Regions from separate parts of the Homo sapiens genome. Here all the other regions are linked to region 1. Evidence: promoter capture Hi-C in 16 types of primary human blood cells and fetal thymus (Javierre and others, 2016). All regions are on one chromosome and are shown on one strand. Each heading gives the region's core, a stretch centred on a gene start or on the middle of the fragment in contact. The rest is flanking DNA. Distances are from core to core; before and after follow the strand shown.

Region 1 (3,651 bases), core at 378-2,877:
CCCATGTCATGATCAGACATGTTGTTAGCAGAACTTCTTCCCAGAGAATTGTATGAGCTTCCACTCTCTGGTCGTCCCAGTTCAGCCCTCTGAAAACACACAAGTATGTGTGTTTCCCTTCTCTGTGGCTTCTGCTTTTTCTGAAAGGCCCAGGGTGAGGCCTGCGGTTGGAGGTGCTCTGAGGTAGACAGCGTCTGGCTGAGGCACCCATTCCCAGGGGAGGAGGCTGAGCCCAGGTGGCTATTACCCCAGCTCATGACATGAGGCTCTCCCAACACTTACAGGATAACCCATCATTACCTCTCTGAAGGGCTCATTTTTACAAGTGAGGCCTTGAGGTCATAGCACAGAAAGACAGGGCCCCTGACACTGTGGTCCTGCCTCTTCCATTTAAGCTATAAACTGGTTCTCTGGATCCTCATGACTGGAGAGACAGAGAGAGGAGGCAGGTGAGAAGGAAGTATGGCTCCCCCTTTGCGCCAATAAAGCAGCCCCAGGAGGCACCTGGCTCCCCTGCCACCACTGGCCAGCCCAAAGTCGCCAGCTTGGAAACCAAAGCTCACTAATGAGATGAATATTTCAGAGCCCAGAGAACTGGACACCTGAGGGCCCTTCCATGACATCTGGCTCTGACCTGCGTTCCCAGGCCTACTTATCCCATGTCCAGGGTGCTCAGGTAGAACCCCAAACTCCTGGGTACCACGTAGAGGCCACAGAGGAGGGAGAGGAGATGGAGACCCCATAGGACAAGAATTGGTGCCGACCCCACAAGGCCAGGGCCTGGCCTCCCAGCAGCCTCCCTCTGCTTCCTCCCACTGGTCCCTGGCTCCTGCCCCAGTCTCTCCACTTGCTTTCCCTTTTCCCGTTTCTCTGTTTTGTTTTCACTCTAACCCAAAGAAGTCACGAGGAGGATGTTACTCCCCTGTAGTTCTGTGAACCCAGCCGGGAAACAGTGGCTGGAAGTGGGACTGGCAGAGGGCAAAGTCATGGTGATAGAGGTGGCCACTTCCCCATGCCAAACACTTGAGCTGCTCATTGGCTTCTGCCCCAGCTGCAAGCTAGGACCCCCCCTTCCCCACCCCTTAAATATTCACCTGTCTACACCGAGACTGGCCTCAGCGCGTGTGGGGGCAACCTGGGGTCCGTGCCAGGCCCTGGCTGTCTCCCCTCCCTCTTCCCTCTTCTCACCAGCTGAGGGCCATGAAAGCCCTCATCCCACACAGCTGGCCACTCGGGCTGGCATGGTGGATAGGCCCTGCGACAGAGAGGCCACTCGTGCCCGAAAGAGGGAACACGAGGACACCCCCAGACCCTGGCTCCGCTCACCAGTGCCCACAACACGCTGCTGGGCTCCCAAGGCTAACCAGGTGCCACAGACCCGGCCGCCCACCCGCGCGCCCAGGGAGAGCGAAACGCCAAGGGCCAGGAGGGGAGATCCCCATCTGGAACGGGCTCCTTGGGCCCAGGAGCGGGCAAGCCGGGAGCGCGCTCCGAAAAGTTTAGGCGCCCCGGCGCATGGCCGCCCCAGCCCTGGACCAGTCCCCACCGCCCACAGTCCCCAACGGCGCCGGCCCCGGCCCCCTGGCTTGCCTGCGCCGTTCCAGACGGAGCGTTCCTGGCCTCGGAGTGTTGCAAGTCCTCCGGGGCCGGGCAGGGCTAGGCTCGGCTGGGGCTCCGCGCCCCGCCCCGTCGCGCCGGCCTCGTGGGGCGGGGCCTCAGGGCGCCGCCAGGGGGCGCAGGGGTCTGTCCCGGGCGCGCGCGCCTCTCAGAGCCCCGACGACGCCTCACTAATAACACAGGGGTATTTTCGGATTTAAAGGCAATACATGATACTGATAGGAAGCTAGAAAAGACACAGAAATGCAGGGAAGAAAGTAATTTCTCTCCACCCCTCCTAGTTCCCAGGGGGAAGCGTTCGCTTTGGGTCCTTCTTTGGCTATTACATTTCTGTATGTATTTTGTTTTTCTACAGTGGGGTATATTGTATGGTGTTTTGTTTACTGCCCTTCTTTTTACTGTTTTATGATGAACATTTTTCTTCTCACTAAATAGTCTTCAAAAGCACAATCTTAATGCCGTGAAGTATTCCATTGCATGGCTATGCGGATTAAATTAATTTCCTACTGGAGGCCGTTTGTTTCCCATTTTTACATTACAAATAAATCAGTAATTAAAATCCTTGATAATTCTGTGTTTTTGAGATAAATGCACTTTTCGAGTTTAAAACTGCAAACATGCAAACCTAGAATCTCTGTTTATAATTACTCAACCAGGAAAGCAGGTGCTTTCCTCAAGTCAGAATTCAGAAGTCCTACATTGAGATGTAGATTACTACTGTTAGGTAGGTCTTAACCCTCATCTCAGTGAAGAATGCAGTAGCAAAGGAGGAAACAGTTTTGAGGAAGTTCTGAAATATTACTGGAGCCTGGGCATGGTGACTCACACCTGCGATCCTAGCACTTTTGGGAGGCCAAGGCCAGAGGATGGCTTGAGCCCAGGAGTTGGAGACCCAGCCTAGGCAACATAGAGAGACCTTGTCTCAATTTAAAAAGAGAAACATTACCGAGCCTTGCCTGAGTTTCTGTGGTTCCAAAGTCCAAGTTCTTTCCATGACACCAAGGCTGCCAGTAGTTGACCAACTCTGTTTAAAGTGCTTATCTCATGTTAATAGCTATAGGTCAGCACCACACCACCACTGAATGTCCTTTTTTTTTTTTTTTTTTTTTTCCAGACAGGGTCTCGCTCTGTCACCCAGGCTGGAGTGCAGTGGCGCCATCTCGGCTCACTGCATCCTCCTCCTGGTTTCAAGTGATTCTCCGGCCTCAGCCTCCTGAGTAGCTGGGATTACAAGTGTGTGCCACTACACCCAGCTAATTTTGTTTGTTTGCTTGTTTGTTTTGTTTGGTTTGTTTGTTTTGTAGAGATGGGTTTTCACGTTGTTGCATAGGCTGGTCTCAAACCCCTGAGCTCAAAGCAGTCAGCCCACTTTGGCCTCCCAAAGTGCTAGGATTACAGACATGAGCCACCACGTCCAGCCCCAAAACAGAGATTTAAAAAAAAAAAAAAAAAAAAAAGACAGATTTTTAAAAACTGCCCCCCATACACACACTATGTATGTTTATTTCTGTAAATATAGTTTAAGTAGGAGTTACTTAGGGGGACTAGTGGCCGTTATGGTGGGCTAGCTCCCCAGACACCCCAACCCTTCAGTGTACTTCCAGTTCCTACAGGCCAAGAACCTCATTTTAGGAAGTCCCCACCCAAGGTGTGATCTCACCAGAGCAAGTACAGTTCTGCTCAGTGTCTGTCTCCCCCTTGCTCAAGGAGTAGCGCCCTAGGTGAAATGCATGGCCCATGGAATCTGTCCAGATCCCTGACATTTTTTCATGCTCTCTACACTTGTGCTGTCTTAGTCCATCTGGGCTGCTACAACAAAAATACCTTAGAGTGGGTAATTTAGAAACAGCAGAAATGTATTGCTCACAGTTCTGGAGGGTGGGAAACGCAACATCAAGGCACCAGCAGGTTAGGTGTCTGATGAAGGCTCCCTCTGCTTCACAGATATCGTCTGAGTCCTCATATGGCCAAGGAAGGAACAAACAGACACCGCCCCCCCACCAGCCTTCCTTTTTTTTGAGATGGAATCTCACT
Region 2 (3,651 bases), core at 627-3,126, 240 kb after region 1:
ACCCGGGAGGCAGAGGTTGCAGTGAGCCGATATTGTGCCACTGCACTCCAACCTGGGCGACAGAGCAAGACTCCGTCTCAAAAAATATATATAAATAAATAAAAATAAAAAGAATGTACAGATGGGTTAGGTTTTTATTTCTAATCTAATAAATATATAATAAATGAGCACCTTATTTATTGTAAGATCAAACACTTACCTGATGTCCTATTCTCTTCTGACTGTTTCAAACTCAGCTGCTTTTCTCTACTGCTGGTTAAATACTTTCTGGAGGGATCTGTCATGGCCTTGTTGTTCCTATAGTTAATAATTTTACATCAATATAGTACAGGTGTATAAAAATATTGTTCTTAATTTTAAATAGTTGTCATTAAAACATTTACATTTAAAGTGCCAAATTCATTGATATGCTTGAAAATTAAGCTACAAGATTGTTAGTCTCAAAAGGTCAATGACTTAAACAAATGAAAATTACAAAAATAATCTTTAATTACTATCTCAAGAGCCAATCCAATCCATGACTCTGATAACTTAGCAAAAGTAAAGGAGCATTTTTCTTTATATAAAAGTCAAATCAGAGACAGCAAGATTATTAGATTTTCTTGGCCAAAAGCAAGACCAGATAAAATGATTCAGCTACTAAGACCAAAAGAATCAATTAAAAAGTAAACTGTGGCCAGGCGCGGTGGCTCACTCCTGTAATCCCAGCACTTTGGGAGGCTGAGGCGGGCAGATCGCGAGGTCAGGAGTTCGAGACCAGCCTGGCCAACATAGTGAAACCCCGTCTCAACTAAAAATACAAAAATTAGCCAAGCATGGTGGCGCGTTCCTGTAGTCCCAGCTACTCGGGAGGCTGTGAGGCAGGAGAATCACTTGAACCTGGGAGGTGGAGGTTGCAGTGAGCCGTGATCGCGCCACTGCACTCCAGCTTGGGCAACAGAGTGAGTCTTAGTCTTAAAAAAAAAAAAAAGTACAATGTTCAAGCTTGGCAGTTTATAGGTTTACAAAGAAAAACAAATCAGGCTGGGCGCGGTGGCTCAAGCCTTAATCCTAGCAGCTTGGGAGGGCGAGGCGGGCGGATCACCTGAGGTTGGGAGTTCGAGACCAGCCTGGCCAACGTGGGAAACCCCATCTCTATTAAAAATACAAAAATTAGCTGGGAGTGGGCTGGATGCAGTGGCTCACACCTGTAATCCCAGCACTTTGGGAGGCCGAGGCAGGTGAATCATGAGGTCAGGAGATCAAGACCATCCTGGTTAACACAGTGAAACCCTGTCTCTACTAAAAATACAATAATTAGCTGGGCGTGGTGGCGGGCACCTGTAGTCCCATCTACGCAGGAGGCTGAGGTGGGAGAATGGCGTGAACCCGGGAGGCGGAGCTTGCAGTGAGCCAAGATCGCGCCACTGCACTCCAGCCTGGGTGACAGAGCGAGACTCTGTCTCAAAAAAAAAAAAATTAGCCAGGCGTGGTGGCAGGCGTCTGTGATCCCAGCTATTCAGGAGGCTGAGGCAGAAGTATTGCTTGAACCCAGAGGCAGAGGTTGCAGTGAGCCAGGGATCACGCCATTGCACTCCAGAATGGGTGACAAGAGCGAGACTTCATCTCAAAAAAAAAAAAAAAAAAAAAAAAAGGAAAAGAAAAATCAAAATCAAAACTGTGTATTCCACATGAATAGCAATACTATTTGCTAAGCAGCAACAGCATTTTAATTTATATTGATTAAAATTCTTTAGGATCATGAATACAAAGTTAAAATTTCTTTTAAAAGCCCTTTTCTCCCCTGTATTATTTTCAAATACCTCAACCCATATAAGTAGAGAGTGTCCATTCAAATAAATGTTCATGCTTTAACAGTGCTAATTTAAGGGGAACCATCATGAACTAAGCCTGTGGCAGACAATGCCTAAGTGTGCCCCACCTAGATTCCCACTGACTCATTTTTATATTCTCTCTTCCATATCTTCACACCAACTTATGTTTTTGATAGCCAGTACCAAGGGCTCTTCTTCACAGGACTGCCCTCAAGTTACTAGAGATACTTTGCCTGTAATCTCAGAGTCACAAACAAGGCCGGGCGCTACAGTAGAGAAGCCCAGCTCTCCTGATTTGGATTAAAACAACTTTATGGTGGAAGCTACATAACAGATTTCTGTAATATCAGGATGAAGACTAACCTTCATGTCCTTGTGTGACTTCTCCAGGATCACATCCATGCTTTGTTTCCTGCCCTTAACTATATTGCTTTCCTTACTCCCTTCACTATCTTCTCTGGGAGTACTTCCTTAGTAATTCACATGCACACTAATCTCCATTTCAGATTCTGCTTCTGGGGAACATAATCTACAACAGCTGGTACTAAAAGTGGGCCTAGGAAGCACACTCTAAGGATAGGATTCTGGAATTGGACCCTTGTTTGGCAATGGCAACAGAAATTCTGTTGCTGATAGTAATACCTCTGACATCTTATAGTGTTACAATTGCTAAGATTTTCACCTATGGTGAATTAGGATGAAATAAGGTAGAGAAGGATAGGGCTCACGCAGTATCTCCAGTATTTTAGAAATGTGGTAGAATGATTACACAATAGATCGTATTGGGGTAATGGAAATGTTCTGAAACTAGATAATGATGACGTAATATAACTAAAAAAATTTACTAAAAATCATTGACTTATATACCCTTAAAATGGGTCAATTACATGGTATGTAAATTGTAGCTTAATAAAGTTGTTTTTAAAATGTCGCAAATTATTTCACTCCCTATATTCAAGCTTCTAATCAATAAATTCAGTCTATTTCTTCATCCCTTAATGGGGCTAGTCCTGTGATTTCCTTTTCCCAAAACAATGTGACAGAAGTTAACAGTGTGTGAGTTCTGACCCTAAGTCTAAAGGTGCCCTGCAGGTTTCCACTCACTCTCTTGGAACCCTGCCACTGCTATGTGAATAATCCCAGGCTAGCCTGTTAACAGTGGAAGACACATGGCCCAATCACGCCCACCACTCAATGGCCAGTTATATGAGTGAGGCCATCCTAGACCAGTCAAACTCTAGCCAAACCATCTACTGACTACAGAGGCGTAACAAAATTAGAATCCAGGTACTATGAGCCAAACTGGGCCCAGATAAACAGAACCACCCAGGTGACCATAAATTCATAAGCAAAAATGAATAGTTACTATTTCAAGTCACTAAATTTTGGAGTGGTTTGGATACAGCAACAGATAAGATGTAGGTGATATCAGGTAAATAATCATCAAAAAGACTATGGAATTGACTGGTTGATGCTGAGTATTTATGTGTTCAAGAGAGAAGACAGGCTCAGTTGAGCCAATTACCAACTTAAAGGACAAAGACAATGTGTAGAGTCACCCACAGGAGAGTTGCAGCCCAGACCTTGTAAAGCAAGACCATGCTGTCTGCAGCCAAAAATTATACCTCATCTGTAAAGTATGGCATACTACTCTTGGCATATTATTAAGCCCTGGAAGAGACAGAGCATCTGACTGATGGTCATCAAGGGACTGTGCAACCAGAGCTAACCATCAGGAGCTAAGTGCTATCACACCCATGAAGTGATAAGACCAGGAGAGTACAACAGCAATTCATCATAAAATGGAAGCAGGTATATTGGAATTGGGCCCAAGTAA
Region 3 (3,651 bases), core at 718-3,217, 190 kb after region 1:
CATGTGAGGTCAAAACTAGTCTTTTTAACTGTACACATAATTTCCTTAGTGACAGCTGGTAACAACCAATTCTTTGCCTTAAGATTCTTCCTCCCACCTTCCTGGCCTCAAACCACTCACAAACAGGAAAGAACAAATTCTCTTAATCCAAAAATATAAGTCTCTTAAGTCAATATAATAATACTGCTATGATTTATACACTTGAGGAGGCCGAGGCGGCCACATCACCTGAGGTCAGGAGTTTGAGACCAGCCTGGCCAACACGGCGCGACCCTGTCTCTACCAAAAACACAAAAATTAGCCAGGCGTGGTGGCGCGTTCCTGTAATCCCAGCTACTCAGGAGGCTGAGGCAGGAGAATCGCTTGAACCCAGGAGGCGGGGGTTGCAGTGAGCCGAGATCATGCCACCGCATTCCAGCCTGGGCAACAGAACGAGACTCTGTTTGAAAAAAACAAAAAACACAACATTTTTTGTAGAGATGGGGGTCTCACCATGTTGCCCAGGCTGGTCTTGAACTCTTGGTCTCAAGCAAACCTTCCACCTTGGCTTCTCAAAATGTTGAGATTACAGGCGTGAACCACCACACCCAGCCTTTATAAAGTCATTTCTTTAAAACCAACTTCCTTGGCCCGGCGCGGTGGCTTATGCCTATAATCCCAGCACTTTGGGAGGCCAAGGCAGGTGGATCACCTGAGGTCAGGAGTTCAAGACCAACCTGGTCAACATGGCAAAACCCCGTCTCTACTAAAAATACAAAAATTAGCCAGGTGTGGTGGCATACAGCTGTAATCCCAGCTACTCGGGAGGCTGAGGCAGGAGAATCGCTTGAACCCGTGAGGCAGAGGTTGCGGTGAGCTGAGATCGTGCCACTGCACTCTAGCCTGGGGGACAGAGCAAGACTCTGTATCAAAACAACAACAACAACAACAACAACAAACAACCAAAAAAAAAAACCAACTCCCATTTTCTAGAAAGGAGTAGATTATGAAATGTAAAAGAACTAGTCTCTAGGGGCTAGGTTCCAGAAATTCCACACTTACTGACAGAATATTGAAGCTAATAAAAGAAAGTAAAGCACTCTGTAGGCAAAGTGCTACATAAATACTTAATGTTAATAACAACCTTGGTGTTTGCGATCTATTCTTGGAAAGAACTAAAAGCTGTCCTGTAACCACATAATAATTTTTTGTAACTACTTCAGTTTTATGTTTATACAGAGCAGATACAATATAAGTTAATTTCATTCCTATATCAGAAAATTTATCTTATGATTACAGGAAATTTACTAATTTATAAGATCCTTAGAATGAAGGAACGCACAAACTGCAAAAAATTACTCCCTGTTTTATTCTTATATACATGTGTGTATGTGTCTATAGCAGGTTTTTACTGAAAGTATGGGATAACAGAAAAAGACTACAGCACAACACAGGGCAACAAAATATAACTGAATATTACACATTACTGAATTAAAAATTGACTAGCTAGTTCTTATAATTATTCCAAAGTCTCAGCAGCTGTATCCTCTGTTGCCATTTTCTTGGAACTCTCAAGACCCTTTTTCTCTTCAATATTTCAAACGCTTTTCCTTCCTTCCTTTAAATATATATTTCTTTCTTTTGTAGAGATGGGGTTTCCCTACGTTACCCAGGCTGGTCTTGAACTCCTGGACTCAAGTGATCCTCCTACCTCAGCCTCCCAAAGTGCTAGGATTACAGGCGTGAGCTATCACACCTGGTCACCTTTCTTATGCAAAAGCATTCTAGCTCTCTGCCCTCTTACACTCTGCACATTTCAGCTTTCCTGACCCTCTTTACCAATCCATTCTGGTAACCTTCATTTATTCAGTAATATTTGTATGAACTTTAAAAAGAAAAATTGAAAAGCAATTAAATGTACCTGGGAATTCTTTAGTCCATAGCAAAAAAAAAAAAAAAAAAAAAAAATTACCTAGGAAGCCTGTTAAATTTGTGCCTGACAAGAGCACACTTCCCACCACACTTCTCACAAGAATACTCCAGTTCTTCGGCCTATAAAAAGAAGGAAAAATAAAGCATGAAGGTGAATCAGCATTAGTATCTTAAATGCAAATAATTTGCTCTAGTCTTATTAGTTCCATTAGTGGAATGACAACTCTGAACCAGTTTTAAAAATTCTGTGTCTAGAGCCATGAGCCTTACCAAATTAAGACCCAATCCTCAAAATATACCTATAATATCATGCCCCATTTCAGAACTTCTAATTTCCTTTTTCACCAAGAATATATCTAAATTTATGATAGTAACTAGACTCTAAAATAGAAGATTCTTAGCCTTTTCAGCCTTTTCCCCATGGACACATATGAACCACTACCAAGAGTATATCCAGATTTTACCATATGGCCATAGCAGAGATAAGATCACCTTTAGGTTAGGTAGAATTTCTTGTCTGTTAGGTGTAACGCTACCCCTTTCGCATAATGGAACTCAATCTTCTCGTGACAGCCCACTAAGAACAACTGCTTTAAAAGGATGAAAAGTTGGGGTGAATACCATTACCTAGAGAACACTGAAACAAGAAATCCTTAAAAAATGGGGGTAAAAATACATAGGAAAATCTTCAAAGTCTATGATAATAACAAGAATAGTTTAAAAATGACTAAAAGAAAAGCAGAGTATTTATCTTTGGGTAGAGCTCAACGTTCACCATTTAATAAACAGATTTTTTTGTCTGTTTGTTTTGACACAGAGCCTTGCTCTGTCACCCAGGCAACTGGGTGGGAGGGAGGGGCGTGATCTCAGCTCACTGCAACCTCCACCTCCAGGGTTCAAGTGATTCTCGTGCCTCAGCTTGCCAAGTAGCTGGGACTACAGGCATGTGCCACCATACCTGGCCAACTTTTGCATTTTTAGTAGAAGCAGGGTTTTGCCGTGTTGGCCAGGCTGGTATTGAACTCCTGACTTCAGGTGATTGGCCTCCCTTGGCCTCACCTTGGGATTACAGGTGGGAGCCACCACACCCAGCCAGATTTTTTATTTTTTTTATTTTTTTGAGACAGAGTCTTGCTCTGTCGCCCAGGCTGGAGTGCAGTGGCGCGATCTCGGCTCACTTCAAGCTCCACCTCCCAGGTTCACGCCATTCTCCTGCCTCAGCCTCCCGAGTAGCTGGGACTACAGGCGCCCGCCACCACGCCCAGCTAATTTTTTTGTATTTCTAGTAGAGACAGGGTTTCACCGTGTTAGCCAGGATGGTCTCGATCTCCTGACCTCGTGATCCTCCCACCTCAGCCTCCCAAAGTGCTGGGATTACAGGCGTTAGCCACCGTGCCCGGCCTTATTTTTATTTTTTATACCTTAGGAAGACAATCCTGCCAATTTGCTACAACACAACAAGGACCGCTACTAGACAGATCAAGGGGGAATCGATTCTTGCAAATTTCCACTAGTTTATAAGGACTGCTATAACAACAGTCTGATTATGCCCCAGAAACTTTCTCAATATCTGTAACGGTATATCACAGACACAAATATGTATCTACAGCTTTGGATAAACATGATTCTTTCTTCCTGTTTCTAATAGGGTACGTACAACCTAAGAAAGAGCAAAGAATATTTTCTTATTCTGCAGATCTTAGGATACCAACTTACGTGATATCTACAGTTTTAATTTCA
Region 4 (3,651 bases), core at 831-3,330, 150 kb after region 1:
ACCTGTGGGAGCCAAGAACGCTGCAGAGAAGACACCAGAGTCCTGTGCTTTCCCTCCTATTTCTCCCCCACTTCTCATTCTTCTTGCTGTTTTACTTCAGTGCCTCTAGTGGTTTTGTTTCCTCAATTTCCTAGTGAAATGGTTCTCAATTTTTTTTTTTTTTTTTTTTTTGAGACACAGTTTCACTCTGCCTCCCAGGCTGGAGTGCAGTGGCAGGATCTCAGCTCACTGCAACCTCCACCTCCTGGGTTCAAGTGATTCTCATGCCTCAACCTCCCAAGTAGCTGGGATTACAGGTGTGTGCCACCACGCCTGGCTAATTTTTGTATTTTTAGTAGAGACGAGGTTTCACCATGTTGGCCAGTCTGGTCTCAAACTCCTGACCTCAAGTGATCCACCAGCCTCGGCCTCCCAAAGTGCTAGGATTGCAGGCATGAGCCACCACACCTGGCCTGGTTCTCAAATTTTATCATGCATAGAAGTCGGGGAGATGGGGGCAGGGAGTGAGGGGGAAGCATATTAAAATGCAGATTCCAAGGCCCCATTCCCAAATATTCTGGTTTATAGACTTAGAATTGGCACCTAGGAATCTGCATCTTTTAAATCTTATTTTAAAAAGGTAATTTCATGTAGTTAGTCCATGGACTACACTTTGAGAAATAATGCTGTCTCTATACTCCATCACCTTTGGGATCCCTTCTCTAGGTAGAATAACTACAACTCCTTTGGTCTTTCAGTGAGTTAACAGAAGTGTATTTAGGCTGGGCACAGTGGCTCACGCCTGTAATCTCAGCACTTTGGGAGGCCGAGGTGGGTGGATTGCTTGAGCCCAGGAGTTTGAGACTAGTCTTCGTAACATGGGGAAACCCCATCTTTACAAAAAATAAAAAACAGCCAGGTGTGGTGGTGCGTGCTTGTGGTCCCAGCTACTCAGGAGGCTGAGGTGGGAGGTTGGTTTGAACCCAGGAGGCAGAGGTTGCAGTTAGCTGAAATTGTGCCACTGCACTCCAGCCTGGGCAACAGAGTCAGACCCTGTCTCAAAAAAAAAAAAAAAAAAAAACCCGAAAAAAGAAAAGAAAAAAAATGTATTTAGCCTTTAGGCCTGGGACACGGGAATATGAAATCAAAACCTTTGCTTTGAGAAGTTCACAGGCTTATAGAGAGAACAAGACAGAGCTAACTCTGAGGAATGTGTCCAGAATTCAAGAGCAAGTTCACAAGCACACTGGGGTATAATCAACAGATGGTCAAAACCTGCAGCACTCATGAAACCCTTCTTGGTGGACTGACAGTACAGACTGGCATGTATAGATAGGTCAAGGTTAAGTGAATTTATAGATGACAATTTCACAACAGATAAGAGAGACAGGGTCATAAATATCCAGGCTAGATCTCCAACTCTGGGGAAAGCCATGGGAAAGTTAATGAATCGTTAAAGAAAAGAGTCATTTTCCACCAATGGACTTCGGTCAGAACAGACCACTAAGCTCTATGTTGTTGTTGTTGTTGTTTTGAGGAGTCTCTCTCTGTTGCCCAGGCTGAAGTGCAGTGGCGCAATCTCAGCTCACTGCAACCTCCACCTCCCAGGTTCAAACGATTCTCCTACCTCAGCCTCCTGAGTAGATGGGATTACAGGCGCCTGACACCACACCTGGCTAAGTTTTGTATTTTTAGTAGAGATGCGGTTTCACCATGTTAGACAGGCTGGTCTTGAACTCCTGACCTCAAGTGATCCACCCACCTCAGCCTCCCAAAGTGCTGGGATTACAGGCGTGAGCCACTGCACCCAGCCTATGTTGTTCTTATGAGTGTGTGTGTGGCAGGGTGGGGTGGGACATGGGAGGCTTCTTGAAGGTGGTGCCCTAGAGACTTCAGAGAGAAAGGCAGCCTGGGAGGTAGCTGTGCACCAGCTAAAGTAACCAGTGGTTTCCTTTTCTTTCCTAGGAGGTCACAAGCCCCAAAGTGGACGTGTTCAATGCTAACAGCAACCTCAGTTCTGGGCCTCTGCCCATCTTCCCCCTGGAGCAGCTAGTGAACAAGCCTGTAGAGGAGCTCCCCGAGGGTGTGGACCCCAGCAGGAAGGAGGTAGGTCAGATTCTCAAAGGAAGACAAAGAAGTCCATTTGTTGGACCACCATAGTTGACTCCCAGATTTGGCCCTGCAGGTGACTAGGTGCTGGGGATGAACAAGACAGATGGGATCCTGCCTTCATGCCACCTTATATCCCAGGAGGAGAGAGATCAGAGAAGCCTGGTTACACTATTATTTAATTTCAGGGTTAAGTGCCAGAAAGGTGAAGTACAGGAGCTGTGAAGAGTATTACAAACAGGGCCGGGTGCAGTGGCTCATGCCTGTAATCCCAGCACTTTGGGAGGCCGAGGTGGGTGGATCACCTGAGGTCAGGAGTTTGAGACCAGCCTGACCAATATGGGGAAACCCCATCTCTACTAAAACTACAAAAATTAGCCAGGTGTGGTGGTGTATGCCTGTAATCCCAGCTACTCGGGAGGCTGAGCCATGAGAATTGCTTGAACCCGGGAGGTGGAGGTTGCAGTGAGTCAAGATCATGCCACTGCACTCCACCCTGGGTGACAGAGTGAGACTGTCTCAAAAAAAGAAAAAAAAAAAAGGTATTACAAAGAGGAGCCTGATTTAGAGATTTCTTTCTGAAAGACAAATAGGAATTATTGAGGCAAAGTAAGTTAGTTCTGGAGAAGGGACAGCTAACATGAAGCCCAAAGGCAAGGAATAAAAATGGGGGCAAAACTGCAAGAGGGCCAGAGTGGCTGTGGTGGTGTGCAGAGCCAGGGAGGGAGGCAGGGCTGAACTGGCAGTGCCTTCTACCCCAAGTTAAGGATCGTATCATGTATCCTGGTGGTGAAGGGGAGTATCATTATGGTTGAAGTAGCAGAGTGACAGACTTACATTGGCCTGGCACGGTGGCTCATGCCTGTAATCCCAGCACTTTGAGAGGCCGAGGAATGCGGATCACCTGAGGTCAGGTGTTCGAGACCAGCCTGGCCAACATGGTGAAACCCCATCTCTACTAAAATTACAAAAATAGCCGGGCATGGTGGCTTGTGCCTATAATCCCAGCTACTCGGGATGCTGAGGCAGGAGAATCACTTGAACCCAGGAGGTGGAGGTTGCAGTGAGCCGAGATTTCACCATTGCACTCCAGCCTGGGCGACAAGAGTGTAACTCCATCTCAAAATGATAATAATAATAATAATTATAGCTTCTCATCGAACAATAGCCTGGAAGGTGGCAAGAGCAGCCATAGGAACACCAGTTAGGAGAGACAGCACAGCTGCTCTCAGGCCGACAGGTAGGTGGGAACCTAGAACAAGTCATGGTGGAGGAGGTGGAGAGAAACATTTAGGAGGTAAAATCAATGATATTTGGTAATTACTGGATAAAGAGTATGAGAGAAGAGAAAATAGCATCATTCTCCAAGATAGAAAACTGGATCAGGCTGAGCTTAGGGGAAGACAATCATGAGTTTGGTGGTAGCTATGTCCTTTGAGGTTTAGATACATGTTCAGTGGGCAAGCAATTCAGAGGAACACCAGGGCAGAGATATGAATTTAAGACTCATCAGCACATGGTCCATCTGGTAACTGGGGTTAGCACAGCAAGAAGAGCTTGTTC
Region 5 (3,651 bases), core at 838-3,337, 130 kb after region 1:
CATGTCCACCCTCTATTCCTCTTGCTGCCAGTTAACCCTGGAATCAGCATGTCCCTGGGTGAGGCTTTAGAGATCATCGATTTAGTTAACCCCCTAAGTTGACCCCCTCAGCTCATAGATGAAGAAGGGAAGTCTACGTTCATACAGCTAGTGAGTGTCAAAGAAAAAGAGGGACGGGGCCCGGCGCGGTGGCTCACGCCTGTAATTCCAGCAATTTAGGAGGCTGAGGCGGGTGGATCACCTGAGGTCAGGAGTTCGAGACCAGCCTGGCCAACATGGTGAAACCCCCGTCTCTATTAAAAATACAAAAATTAGCTGGGCTTGGTGGCTCGCGCCTGTAATCCCAGCTACTTGGGGGGCTGAGGCAGGAGAATCACTTGAACCCGGGAGGCGGAGGTTGAAGTAAGCCGAGATTGTGCCATTGTACTTCAGCCTGGGCAACAAGAGTGAAACTCTGTCCCAAAAATAAATAAATAAATAAATAAATAAAAGAAGGGGACAGAGACAAAGGTGATGACAGAAATGAAACAGAAAACGGTCTCCTCCTTTATACCCAACCTGGTTCTGCTGGACCAGGAATCCTGGGAGCCCTGGGGACTTGGTAGGTTGAAAAATACCTGATGGAGGAGACCATGGTTGCCTGATGGAGAAGGCCATAGCCAACAGGCCATCAGACAGGACCCAAGCCCAAGGGGCTCCTACAGTTACACGGCAAGCTGCTGCTAATCAGTCGGAGCAGGCAATGATCAGAGACTGGGCAGGGCCTTACCTCCAACTCTAGAACGCCAGGGAAGCAGCAGCCACCCCTCAGGGCTCAGAAAAGGGAGTTTCTAAGTACTAAAAGGCCAAGTCACTAAGAGGTGACTCAAAGTCAAGGTGCAAGGAGAGATTAGATAGTGAGATTTCAGGCTGTCAGCGAGTGGAGGCCTGACCTGTCGGCCACATGCCCTCTCATTCATTATTCATCAGTTCAAGGAGCATTCATGGAGGGCAGCTCTCTGCCAGGCTGGGTGATAGGCTCCATGGAGATCGGGGTGGCCTCTGGCCTGATGAGGAGGAACCTCAAAACTAGGGAGGAGAATAACTGGGCACTAGTGGCTGTCTGCCCTAGTTCATATCAGAATCACTGGGGAGTTTTAAAAGCACCCATGCCTCACCTCCCAAAAGGCAGAAAATAAAGCACCCATGCCCAAGCCCCACCCTGGCCTAATTAAATCAGAATCACCAGAGCCTGGAGCATCAGCACGTTCCGAAGCTCCCCAGCTGAGGCTGATGAGCAGCAGGAGCGAATACAGCTACAGGTCCAAGCAAAAAGGGCCGGCCAGGCACAGTGGCTCATGCCTGTAATCCCAGCACTTTGGGAGGCTGTGACAGGTGGATCACCTGAGGTCAGGAGTTTGAGACCAGCCTGGCCCACATGGGGAAACCCTGTCTCTACTAAAAATACAAAATTAGCCAGGCGTGGTGGCTCACGCCTGTAATCCCAGCTATGCGGGAGGTTGAGGTAGGAGAATCACTTGAACCTGGGAGGCAGAGGTTGCAGTGAGCCAAGATCACGACACTGCACTCCAGCCTGTGCGACAGAGCGGGACTCCATCTCAAAAAGAAGAAGAAGAAAAAAATAATATGGAGAAAGGGCTGACATGAGGAGAAAAGCTTGGGGAGGGGGGTTCCTTCCAGTTTAGCGGGCAGAGAGTAGTTCACAGTGGGAGGGTTCACTCTGTTCATTCATTCATCCATCTCTCACTCCTTCCCTCCCCCTCTCTTCCTTATTGAGCAAAGTCACTGTGCTAGACACTGCGGATTTGGTACTAAACAAGCGGAAATGGTCCCTGAGTGGGGAGTAACCCTCTGTGCTCCCCCAAGCCCCTGAGCCTGCGACCTCCTGGCACTGTTGGGAGTTCTCTAGGGGCAGGCTGGAAGGGCAGCATCCGAACTCAGGGTGCCCCTGCTCCCAACGCCTTCTCCCCCAGGCTCACTCACCATGACCAAGCTGAGCGCCCAAGTCAAAGGCTCTCTCAACATCACCACCCCGGGGCTGCAGATATGGAGGATCGAGGTGAGGCCCTGTCTGGGCATGGGGGCTGCTCAGGCCTGGGGTGGAGGGAGGCAAGGCCAAGGAGGGAGGCCTGGGATTTCTCTTCGTTTCCTCTGCTCCTGCCCTGAAGCCCCTGAGAGCTCAGCCCCTCACCTCCCGCATCATCCACACCCCGGCTGGTCTCCCTTTCCCTTTCTCCATTTCTTCTCCCTCTGTCTCTCAACCTTCCTCTCCACTTCCTCTTCCTCACTCATCCCTTCCTTTCCCTCCATTGATTTTCCTTCTCCCGCCCCTCACAGTTTTCTTCTCCTCTCTTCCTTTTCTCTCCTTTCATTCCTGGGCCCGGCTCTTTGTCTCCGACGCCTCCTCCCCTTGGGCCCTCCTCCCAGGCCTAGGGGTCCTGGTGGTCCAGGGCAGCCCCTCTGACCCTCTTTCTCTCCTTAGGCCATGCAGATGGTGCCTGTTCCTTCCAGCACCTTTGGAAGCTTCTTCGATGGTGACTGCTACATCATCCTGGCTGTGAGTCAGGGGCAGGGGAGGGGGCTGAGCAGAGAGCAAAACCCACTGTGGTGTCAGGGAGGAAACAGGCTGGGGGCCGTGGGGAGAGTTGGCCTGGCTTCACCCCAAGACACAATTTACTGGGTATGCCCAAGTGCCCAACCCTGTGGGGGCTTCACAGAGGTCAGAGGCTCTTGCTGCCCTTGATCCACTGAGCTCCCAGCTGAGGTCAACTTCTGTGGATTCACAGTCTTGGGGAAACTTCTGAGTTGTTGCCGTATCACCCTAACTTGAGTCCACATTTCCACAATCCATAGTCATCTTCTTTTTTTAAAATTTTTTTCCGGATGGAGTCTCACTCTGTCACCCAGGCTGGAGTGCAGTGGAGCGACCTCGGCTCACTGCAACCTCCACTTCCCGGGTTCAAGCGATTCTCCTGCCTCAGCCTCTTGAGTAGCTTGGACTACAGGCACGTGCCACCACAGTCAGCTAATTTTTTTGTATTTTTTAGTAGAAACGGGGTTTCACCATGTTGATCAGGCTGGTTTCGAACTCTTGACCTCAGGTGATCCACTCGCCTCAGCCTCCCAAAATGCTGGGATTACAGGCATGAGCCACCATGCCCAGCCTGGCAGTCATCTTCATATCACCTTGATTTTCACCATACCCTGGTACCACCTGTACTATTAAGACATTTGTATTTTTTTCTTTATATTGACTCATTTTAAATTTTTATTTTATTTTATGTATTTATTATTATTATTTTTTGAGACAGAGTCTCGCTCTGTCGCCCAGGCTGGAGTGCAATGGCACAATCTTGGCTCACTGCAAACTCTGCCTCCTGGATTCAAGCGATTCTCGTGGCTCAGCCTCCTGAGTAGCTGGGATTACAGGCATCTGCCCCCACACCTGGCTAATTTTTGTATTTTTAGTAAAGACAGGGTTTTGCCATGTTGGCCAGGCTGGTCTTCAACTCCTGACCTCAGGTGATCCACTTGCCTCGACCTCCCAAAGTGCTGGGATTACAGGCGTGAGCCACTGTGCCTGGCACAAGCAAGTTATTTCTGAGATGAGGCAAGGGAGGCCCAGAGAGGAGAAGCCATGTCTCAGAGAGT

The links. The method cuts DNA at HindIII sites, captures the fragments that hold promoters and counts their contacts. A CHiCAGO score of 5 or more calls a contact.
Region 2: a fragment that was not itself captured here is called in contact with the fragment with the promoter of TMBIM1 in region 1 in 1 of 17 cell types (naive CD4 T cells); the score reaches 6.4 in naive CD4 T cells.
Region 3: a contact is called between a fragment that was not itself captured here and the fragment with the promoter of TMBIM1 in region 1, in 4 of 17 cell types (neutrophils, naive B cells, monocytes and 1 more). The highest score is 7.0, in neutrophils.
Region 4: a contact is called between a fragment that was not itself captured here and the fragment with the promoter of TMBIM1 in region 1, in 1 of 17 cell types (monocytes). The highest score is 6.6, in monocytes.
Region 5: a contact is called between a fragment that was not itself captured here and the fragment with the promoter of TMBIM1 in region 1, in 2 of 17 cell types (monocytes and neutrophils). The highest score is 5.8, in monocytes.

The regions. Positions count from the first base shown.
Region 1 is chr2:218,290,876-218,294,526 of GRCh38, forward strand. It overlaps TMBIM1 (transmembrane BAX inhibitor motif containing 1), which reads right to left and starts at 1,628. Exons shown (of 12, transcript NM_022152.6): 1 at 1,591-1,628. The region is part of intron 2 of PNKD (PNKD metallo-beta-lactamase domain containing); the gene reads left to right. RefSeq lists enhancers at 196-1,160, 1,161-2,123, 2,306-3,152 and a silencer at 1,406-1,885. The HindIII fragment of the contact is 24,107 bases long and covers 1-3,651 here.
Region 2 is chr2:218,534,410-218,538,060 of GRCh38, forward strand. It overlaps USP37 (ubiquitin specific peptidase 37), which reads right to left. Exons shown (of 26, transcript NM_020935.3): 9 at 200-297. Among named protein-coding and RNA genes, the nearest start is that of USP37, 32 kb to the right of the region's middle. The HindIII fragment of the contact is 1,789 bases long and covers 983-2,771 here.
Region 3 is chr2:218,483,713-218,487,363 of GRCh38, forward strand. It overlaps USP37 (ubiquitin specific peptidase 37), which reads right to left. Exons shown (of 26, transcript NM_020935.3): 16 at 1,952-2,031. Among named protein-coding and RNA genes, the nearest start is that of VIL1, 66 kb to the left of the region's middle. The HindIII fragment of the contact is 4,287 bases long and covers 1-3,651 here.
Region 4 is chr2:218,438,778-218,442,428 of GRCh38, forward strand. VIL1 (villin 1) reads left to right here. Exons shown (of 20, transcript NM_007127.3): 19 at 1,945-2,085. Among named protein-coding and RNA genes, the nearest start is that of VIL1, 21 kb to the left of the region's middle. The HindIII fragment of the contact is 5,722 bases long and covers 1-3,651 here.
Region 5 is chr2:218,421,795-218,425,445 of GRCh38, forward strand. It overlaps VIL1 (villin 1), which reads left to right. Exons shown (of 20, transcript NM_007127.3): 2 at 1,974-2,059; 3 at 2,483-2,557. The coding sequence starts at 1,985. Among named protein-coding and RNA genes, the nearest start is that of VIL1, 4.5 kb to the left of the region's middle. RefSeq lists an enhancer at 2,612-3,112. The HindIII fragment of the contact is 867 bases long and covers 1,655-2,521 here.